3 separate regions of the Homo sapiens genome follow, and regions 1 and 2 are each linked to region 3. The links are contacts of gene promoters, found by promoter capture Hi-C in human tissues and cell types (Jung and others, 2019). All regions are on one chromosome and are shown on one strand. Each heading gives the region's core, a stretch centred on a gene start or on the middle of the fragment in contact. The rest is flanking DNA. Distances are from core to core; before and after follow the strand shown.

The links. The method cuts DNA at HindIII sites, captures the fragments that hold promoters and counts their contacts. A contact is called where the count stands out against the background at its distance.
Region 1: a contact is called between a fragment that was not itself captured here and the fragment with the promoter of DCSTAMP in region 3, in 1 of the 25 tissues and cell types used here (dorsolateral prefrontal cortex).
Region 2: a contact is called between a fragment that was not itself captured here and the fragment with the promoter of DCSTAMP in region 3, in 1 of the 25 tissues and cell types used here (H1 embryonic stem cells).

The regions. Positions count from the first base shown.
Region 1 is chr8:103,792,096-103,794,946 of GRCh38, forward strand. The region is part of intron 6 of RIMS2 (regulating synaptic membrane exocytosis 2); the gene reads left to right. Among named protein-coding and RNA genes, the nearest start is that of RIMS2, 290 kb to the left of the region's middle. The HindIII fragment of the contact is 7,799 bases long and covers 1-2,851 here.
Region 2 is chr8:103,757,729-103,760,726 of GRCh38, forward strand. All of the region lies in intron 5 of RIMS2 (regulating synaptic membrane exocytosis 2), which reads left to right. Among named protein-coding and RNA genes, the nearest start is that of RIMS2, 260 kb to the left of the region's middle. The HindIII fragment of the contact is 6,148 bases long and covers 1-2,998 here.
Region 3 is chr8:104,338,377-104,341,408 of GRCh38, forward strand. It overlaps DCSTAMP (dendrocyte expressed seven transmembrane protein), which reads left to right and starts at 1,450. Exons shown (of 4, transcript NM_030788.4): 1 at 1,450-1,486. The HindIII fragment of the contact is 10,500 bases long and covers 1-3,032 here.

The sequences.
Region 1 (2,851 bases), core at 343-2,842, 550 kb before region 3:
ACCCCAAATCAACAGAATATACATTCTTCTCAGCACCACATCGCACTTATTCTAAAACTGACCACATCGTTGGAAGTAAAGCACTCCTCAGCAAATGTAAAACAACAGAAATTATAACAAACTGTCTCTCAGACCACAGTGCAATCAAATTAGGACTCAGGATTAAGAAACTCACTCAAAACCTCTCACCTACATGGAAACTGAACAACCTGCTCCTGAATGACTACTGGATGCATAACGAAATGAAGGCAGAAATAAACATGTTCTTTGAAACCAATAAGAACAAAGAAACAATGTACCAGAATCTCTGGGACACACTTAAAAGAGTGTGTAGAGGGAAATTTATAGCACTAAATGCCCACAAGAGAAAGCAGGAAAGATCTAAAATTGACACCCTAACATCACAACTAAAAGAACTAGAGAAACAAGAGCAAACACACTCAAAAGCTAGCAGAAGGCAAGAAATAACTAAGATCAGAGCAGAACTGAAGGAGGTAGAGACACAAAAAACCCTTCAAAAAATCAGTGAATCCAGGAGCTGGTTTTTTTTTTTTTTTTTTAAAGATCAACAAAATTGATAGATCGCTAGCAAGACTAATAAAGAAGAAAAGAGAGAAGAATCAAATAGACGCAATAAAAAATGAGAAAGTGGATGTCACCACCAAACCCAAGGAAATACAAACTACCATCAGAGAATACTATAAAGACCTCTATGCAAATAAACTAGAAAATCCGAAAGAAATGGATAAATTCCTGGACACATACACCTTCCGAAGACTAAACCAGGAAGAAGTTGAATCCCTGAATAGACCAATAACAGGCTCTGAAATTGAGGCAATAATTAATAGCCTACCAACCAAAAAAAGTCCAGGACCAGATGGATTCACAGCCGAATTCTACCAGAGGTACAAAGATGAACTGGTACCATTCCTTCTGAAACTATTCCAATCAATAGAAAAAGAGGGAATCCTCCCTAACTCATTGTATGAAGCCAGCATCATTCTGATACCAAAGCCAGGCAGAGACACAATAAAAAAAGAGAATTTTAGACCAATATCCCTGATGAACATCGATGCAAAAATTCTCAATAAATACTGGTAAACTGAATCCAGCAGCACATCTAAAAGCTTATCCACTACGATCAAGTGGGCTTCATCCCTGGGATGGAAGGCTGGTTCAACATACGCAAATCAGTAAACGTAACCCCTCATATAAACAGAACCAAGACAAAAACCACATGATTATCTCAATAGATGCAGAAAAGGCCTTCGAGAAAATTCAACAGCCCTTCATGCTAAAAACTCTCAATAAACTAGGTATAGATGAGACATATCTCAAAATAATAAGAGCTGTTTCTGACAAACCCAGAGCCAATATCATACTGAATGGGCAAAAACTGGAAGCATTCCCTTTGAAAACTGGCACAAGACAGGGATGCCCTCTCTCACCACTCCTATTCAACATAGTGTTGGATGTTCTGGCCAGGGCAATCAGGCAGGAGAAAGAAATAAAGGGTATTCAATTAGGAAAATAGGAAGTCAAATTGTCCCTGTTTGCAGATGACATGATTGTATACATAGAAAAACCCCATTGTCTCAGCCCAAAATCTCCTTAAGCTGATAAGCAACTTCAGCAAAGTCTCAGGGTACAAAATCAATGTGCAAAAATCACAAGCATTCCTATACACCAATAACAGACAAACAGAGAGCCAAATCATGAGTGAACTCCCATTCATAATTACTACAAAGAGAATAAAATACCTAGGAATCCAACTTACAAGGGATGTGAAGGACCTCTTCAAGGAGAACTACAAACCACTGCTCAACGAAATAAAAGAGGACATAAACAAATGAAAGAACATTCCATGCTCATGGATAGGAAGAATCAATATCGTGAAAATGGCCATACTGCCCAAGGTAATTTATAGATTCAATGCCATCCCCTTCAAGCTACCAATGACTTTCTTTACAGAATTGAAAAAAACTATGTTAAACTTCATATGGAACCAAAAAAGAGCCCACATTGCCATGACCATCCTAAGCCAAAAGAACAAAGCTGGCAGCATCACACTACCTGACTTCAAACTATACTACAAGGCTATAGTAATCAAAACAGCATGATACTGGCACTAACACAGAGATATAGACCAATGGAACAGAACAGAGCCCTCAGAAAGAATACCACACATCTAAAACCATCTGATCTTTGACAAACGGAACAAAAACAAGAAATGGGGAAAGAATTCCCTATTTAATCAATGGTGCTGGGAAAACTGGCTAGCCACGTATAGAAAGCTGAAACTGGATCCCTTCCTTACAACTTATACAAAAATTAATTTATGATGGATTAAAGACTTAAATGTTAGACCTAAAACCATAGAAATCCTAGAAGAAAACCTAGGCAATACCATTCAGGACATAGGCATGGGCAAGGACTTCATGACTAAAACACCAATGGCAATGGCAACAAAAGCCAGAATAGACTAATGGGATCTAATTAAACTAAAGAGCTTCTGCACAGCAAAAGAAACCACCATCAGAGTGAAGAGGCAACCTACAGAATGGGAGAAAATTTTTATAATCTACCCTTCTGACAAAGGGCTAATATCCAGAATCTACAAAGTACTTAAACAAATTTACAAGAAAAAAATCAAACAACCCCATCAAAAAGTGGGCAAAGGATATGAACAGACACTCCTCAAAAGAAGACATTTATGCAGCCAACAGACACATGAGAAAATGCTCATCATCACTGGCCATCAGAGAAATGCAAATCGAAATCACAATGAAATACCATCTCACACCAGTTAGAATGGCGATCATTAAAAAGTCAGGAAACAACGGGTGATGGA
Region 2 (2,998 bases), core at 256-2,755, 580 kb before region 3:
GCAATCCCTTGTATCATCAGTGCATATGTATCTGTGCACAAACACAGAAGAGAAGGCGATGTGAAGATTTAACAGAGAGAGTTCGAAGATGCTGTTTTTGAATATTGGATTGATGTGGCCACAAGCCAAGGAATGATGATACTCACCAGAAGCTGATTGCCAGAGGAGACAAGGAACTGGTTTTCCCTAGAGCCTTCTGAAGGATCATGGCCCTGTTGACATCTTGATTTTGGTCAGGTGATATTGAAATTGGACTTCTTGTCCCAGAGCTGTGAGGGAATACATTTCTTGTTGTTTTAAGCCACCAGTTTGGGGTAATTTGTAATTTGAGTCATGGAAGTTTCCATTTTTCCCCCTTCTGTAATATTTTTGAATAAGTTTTAGATAGCTATCTAGAGTTAGATAGACTTTAGATAGCTATCTAGGACCTCCTGTCTTTCTCTTCTTCTCTTTCTTCCTTCCTCTTTCCTCTGAACTTACTTCTTCCTTATTAATAATTTCATGATTGCCTTCATGCAGTCTCTGGGATCTCCAGTTCAGAACCAGATATTCATTAATGAGCTGTGGTCTTGCCTCAATCTTGGTATTGAGTGATATTGCAAATTAATATATTAGTGATATTTTACATTAGTGATCTTATAAATTCATATATACAAACCAAGTCTGTGGAGGCTTTGTTCAGTGTCAAAGTTACAAGTGTGTCCCACTTGCCCAAGCCTACAGCTTCTAGGAAGCTGTAGGTTGAGAAGATTTCCACAGCATTTTTTTCAGCTTTTTTTTATTAATGAAGACGTGAACATGAATTTCAGTTTGTCATTTCACATGCAGCACTTCTAGTTCTGTTAAACCATAAGACCTGTGCTCTTATTCACTGGTACCTGCTGTTTGGCTGGGGACATAGTAGACCTGAGGCTTTAGCTCTGCTAATTTCCTTTCATTTCTTTTTTACTTTTATTTATTCATTTATAAGTTAAAATTCTGGGTGTAGAAACAACAGTCTTTCTATTGAAAGACATGTCTGCTTTTAGCAGAAGAAAGGTTAAAAGTTTAGATTTATATCATGGCATAAAACAACTTACTTACAAATTACAAATAAGTAGAGAAAAATAGAGTTTGGGAAAAGTAATAGAGAGGGTTAAAAGTTTAAATTTAGGCAAAGTGGTAAAACTCACTATAATTTTAATTGGATGAAATCGATGAAATGGGAAGACTGAAGCTCATTACTTCAAGCTGAGGGTATTTGGGGAAAGTGTTAGGTATACAGAAAAGAACAGTCAAGGAAAAGCTTGTTTCTTCTATTCTTCTACATTGTAGGGGAGGAGAAAGAAGACAGGTGAGGCCAGTAGATGATTAGAGGTATGTTCCAGTCTCTTCTTTCCAGGCTTTGACTCAGGACGAGGATGCATTTTTGTTAAATTGAAGGGCATCTTTTACTCTTATTATTATTTGAGATCCATGGAAGGGAATCACCCTTCGGGATGCCCTAGCATCCATCAGGGGCATAGATACTTCAGAATGAACTTGGCAGCGGATCATGATTAAGAAAGGCCAAGAAGGACAGGTGTGGTGGCTCACGCCTGTAATCCCAGCACTTTGGGAGGCCGAGGCAGGCGGATCACGAGGTCAGGAGATCGAGACCATCCTGGCTAACACGGTGAAACCCTTTCTCTACTAAAAATACAAAAAATTAGCTGGGCGTGGCGGTGGGCGCCTGTAGTCCCAGCTACTCGGGAGGCTGAGGCAGGAGAATGGCGTGAACCTGGGAGGCGGAGCTTGCAGTGAGCAGAGATTGTGCCACTGCACTCCAGCCTGGGCGACAGAGCGAGACTCCGTCTCAAAAAAAAAAAAAAAAAAAAAAAAGAAAAGAAAAAAGAAAGGCCAAGAAAAGGCCAGACTTGACTTCCAGAACTGTCCTTTGTTCTAGTGTGGCATGAGCATAACTACATGTCCCAGACATGACACCTATCTATAGTGAGGGATGAGATGACTTTGCAGAAGAAGCTGCAGAATAGACAGCTTTTGCCATAGTGGAATAGAGGGTCATTCAGGGACTAAGTGTTTGGCAGTGCTGGTGGGAACCGAAGTGAGATCAGGTTTATTGAGAAGTGCAAGTCTGTCTAAGTTGAGAAGAATCAGACTATCGATTGGATGAGCTGCAGGTTGTGTAGCAGCATAAGCCTCACAGAACACCTGAATACTTTCTTGGAGAACAGCCAAAAAAGGAGCAGAAATATCAGAAATAGAGAACTTGTCCAAAGGAGCTATTATTTATTGGACTACAATTTACTGAGTAGCTTTAAAGAAGAATCTGGCAAGTGTGCTGTTGACAAAAATCAGATCAAAAATAGAGAAATAAATACGCTACCTTTCTTTGTGAGTAAATTTTTCAAAGCCACAGCGATAGCCAACATAGAAGGATTTGTAACAGCTAAGACTGGGAAATGCTTAAGGTTAAAGCTCTCAGGAGGATGTGCTGTTGCCTCCCAAGAGATTTAATGAAGACCCATCAGACATTCCTGCTTCAGCCTGTAAGTGTGACTATTGCTAGAAATGCTGTGATTACAATTCATGGTAAATCTGGAAGTTCTGCTGCTTGTATCAGGGGCATCAGATGAAGAAAATTTCTGATTTTTGTTTTGTAATCCAGAATCTTAGTATTTACAGATGACAGTATCTCTTAATTGCCTAAGGAATCCTATTAGAAAATGTTAACCTTCTGGGATATGAGCCAATGTGTCTACTTTCAAAATCCACCATGGCAGTGCTGGGTGAGGGCTTGTAGTTTAGTAGCGCAAGCTACCCTTGAATTCTGCCTTTTTAGAGACACAGACACCATGGATCTGATCATGGGAATGCTTTAGGGTAATGCTCTGGTTGAGCCTCTGGATTTCCAGACCTATTGTAGATCTCTGCATTCTTGTTTTTTTTCCAAACACAATGTGGGCCAGAGGGAAAGATCTATGGTGGGACTGCATTCCTTTTGTAACATTTACCGTAA
Region 3 (3,032 bases), core at 200-2,699:
TAGCTTATAAATTTGTATAGGTATTGTCAAATCAGCCTTTTTCTTTCACTCCCAAGTTGGGAATTGCTGGGGACTCTCAAAACCATGTCACTGACTCCATTTTTGGTTGTGGGAGCTGGGAGCCCCTCCATTTCCTCTTCCCAGTTCTTTCTTCTGCAGCTGCCCCCAGGTTTGTTCTCCATGATCCAGCAACTTCTGTCTCCATCCCCCGTTCTCAGAAGGCTCCATCTCCTCCTTCCCCAAGAAAGTTGCAACTGCCCTCAGCTTTCCTCCCTCCCTCCTCAGGGAGTACCAACATCTCTCTCTTATCTTTATTCTTCTTTGTGAGGCTGATATGCTAAATTTCATCTAGTTTTCCCCAAACTCAAACCACTACCTCTCTACTGCTGCCTTCTCCCTCTCCATTTCCATCCCTAGCACTACTACAAAGGAACCCCATCCAGTCCAGCCGGTTGGCTTGCTCCTCCCCTCCTCCCACTCCAGTTCACGCTCCAGCCCACTGAAGAGTGGTGCCCACCCCTAGGCCCCTGCCTAAATGGCTCTTCCAGAAACACCAGTGACTTCCCACTCACCAAAGTCTGGGGCCGTTTCCTCAAGATCCTGCCCACTCCCTGACCCTTCCCTCCCTTGGGGCCACCATGGCTGCTTCTGGATGACTCAATCAGACACCCACATTGCAGTCCCATCCTTCCTGTTCAAATGAAAACATCTCATTTCAACAGCTCTCTTCATCTTCAGGACTAAGTCAGCCCCTTACACAAAGGACTCATGAGGGACATGCAGTCTGTGTGCCCAGCCTGAGCCCAAGGGTCTATTCTGATCCTTTTTTTTTTTTTAAGATAAAGGTTTTTGCAGGTATAATAGGGGTCTCCAACAAAAAGTAAAGAATAATTTTGTAGAAAGATTTTGAGACTTTCCTAACTCTCCGAAACTACACAAGCTGGTCCTTTTGACTTGGAAGCTAAATTTCTAAGATGGAAAGTCACATGTATGAGTGGGAGGCATGAAACCAATTATTCGACCTGTCTGGGGTCATGAGTGCAGAGGCGGCTCCTACGAACCATCTGCCTCTTCAAGTGTGGATGAGAGGTGGGTATGGCGGATGCTTGTCATTTCCCAATGGCTCGAGTGGATGTGGGGAGTATGGGAGTGAGGGCAAAAGAGAAAAGAGGGAGAGAGGCCGTCCAAGCTTTCACAACTCACTCTCTTGTGTTTGAAAATATCTGATTTCATTATTTTCTATAATTAATTTCTAGAACATCTATTCTGAGGAAAATGCTAGAAAGAAATATGCTATTCATTTGTATCAGCATTACTCTTTGTTGATATTAAATGGCTCAGTCACTTTATGGGGGAAATAAAGAGGTTGATTCATGGTGATGTGACCCTCTCGACACTTCTGGTTCCCTTTTTCCTGCTATATATCAAGACCTACAGCCCTTGGGAAGTGCATTTCTGCATTCGAAGAAGAATCTGAGAGAAACCTGTAAGTAAACTTTCAGAATAATCTTATTTCTAAAATTGCTTTTAAAAAAGTACTAGTAAATTGGAATAAACAATTGTGACCAGAGCATACTTTAAGGCCCCCTATACCCCGACAGTCTCCCTATGTATGGAAGTATCAGAAAGTCTTTTCATGTTGGTATCTGAATATCCTCTGCTCAGGGAAAACTGCAGCATGAATATCTTCTTATGGGTGTAGCCTGGGTATACGCGAGCCACCCTTCACTTTATGAATCCCCTCAGCTAATCCTCCTGGTGGTTATGGGGAGCCCTAGGCTGGCTCAGTCCTGCCTGGCCAACGATGCAGCTCCCGGCACCTGGCACACGCAGCAATGGGCTGAATTGTTCCGTAAATGCTATTCTGTTTACCTAGTAGCGTTCATTAATCTTTCCTTTCTTGTGTGAAGGCTGCTTTCACAGAGGAAGGCATTTGCTGGCTTTCCCAAGGCAAGAACAATGAAAACAAAGTCATGAGGAGTTCTCTCTACCTCAAATGAAGGCCGCAGCTCCTGCTCAAGCTATTTTGGCAGTCTGAGAGAACAGTACATTCTGAACCACATTGTAAGTTTGCAAGAGCTTATACAAAAAAGAAAGGGAGAAAAAAGGAAAAGGAAAAGAAACCCTCCATTCTTCTTTTGTTCCACTCCCAGGTGCTGGGCTTTGATGTTCTGTCTCAGAAGTGACTGCAGAACGCCAGCTCCAAGAACCAGCTCCGCTGCTCACTGCACCTTTCATTTCAGAGAGCATGGGGCTAGTGGGGACCTTAGAACTCAGCTAGCCCATAGGAGCTGAGGTCCAGGAGGTGACATGACCTATCCAAGGCCACGCAACCTGGCTTGGGTAGAGGCAGGTTGGACCACAGGTCTCCGTTTGGCGCTCTTTTCCTGTTCTGCTCTGTCCTTTGATCAAATTCCTTTTAAAATGAGATTCACATCAAGCCAGTGAGGGAGGCTGATGGGTTCAGACTGGGTTCCCGCAGGGGACCGGCAGGGCTGGTTGAGGAGTACAGAAAGAACAGAGTGCTTGTCCGTTTGGGTTTATTGTCCCCTGGGGTGTCTGCAGACTATATCTGGGCTTGTTGAGCATAAGCCATTGGCTTCTGCACAGGCAGAGTCAGAATGAACTGGTGTCACTTAATGGGAATTGCAGGACATCAGATGAGGCAGGAGCTTTGGAAATGGGGAGAGAGGGGAGCAATAAGATGCTCCCAAGGTCATTGTCTCCTGGCCTTTCCTCCAGAGAAGGTCACATTTCTTCCTCCCACACTTTCAATAGCAGTAAGCCTGTGGGTTTCTGCTTACCAGCTCTGGAGACACATGGGTGATGTGCAGCTTCAATACCCCTCCAGTCTAGAAAGCTCCTAGGGTGGGCCATTCATGTGGAGATTCTCATTATTATTTCATGGCTCCATTTTTTGTAGCTTCTGACTGGACCTTGTATCTGAAGCAAGGACACATTCATCTGCACCTTGAAAGTTGATCTGTGCTCAAAAGACAGTGCTCAGGAATGCCGGTCTCCTTCACTCATCA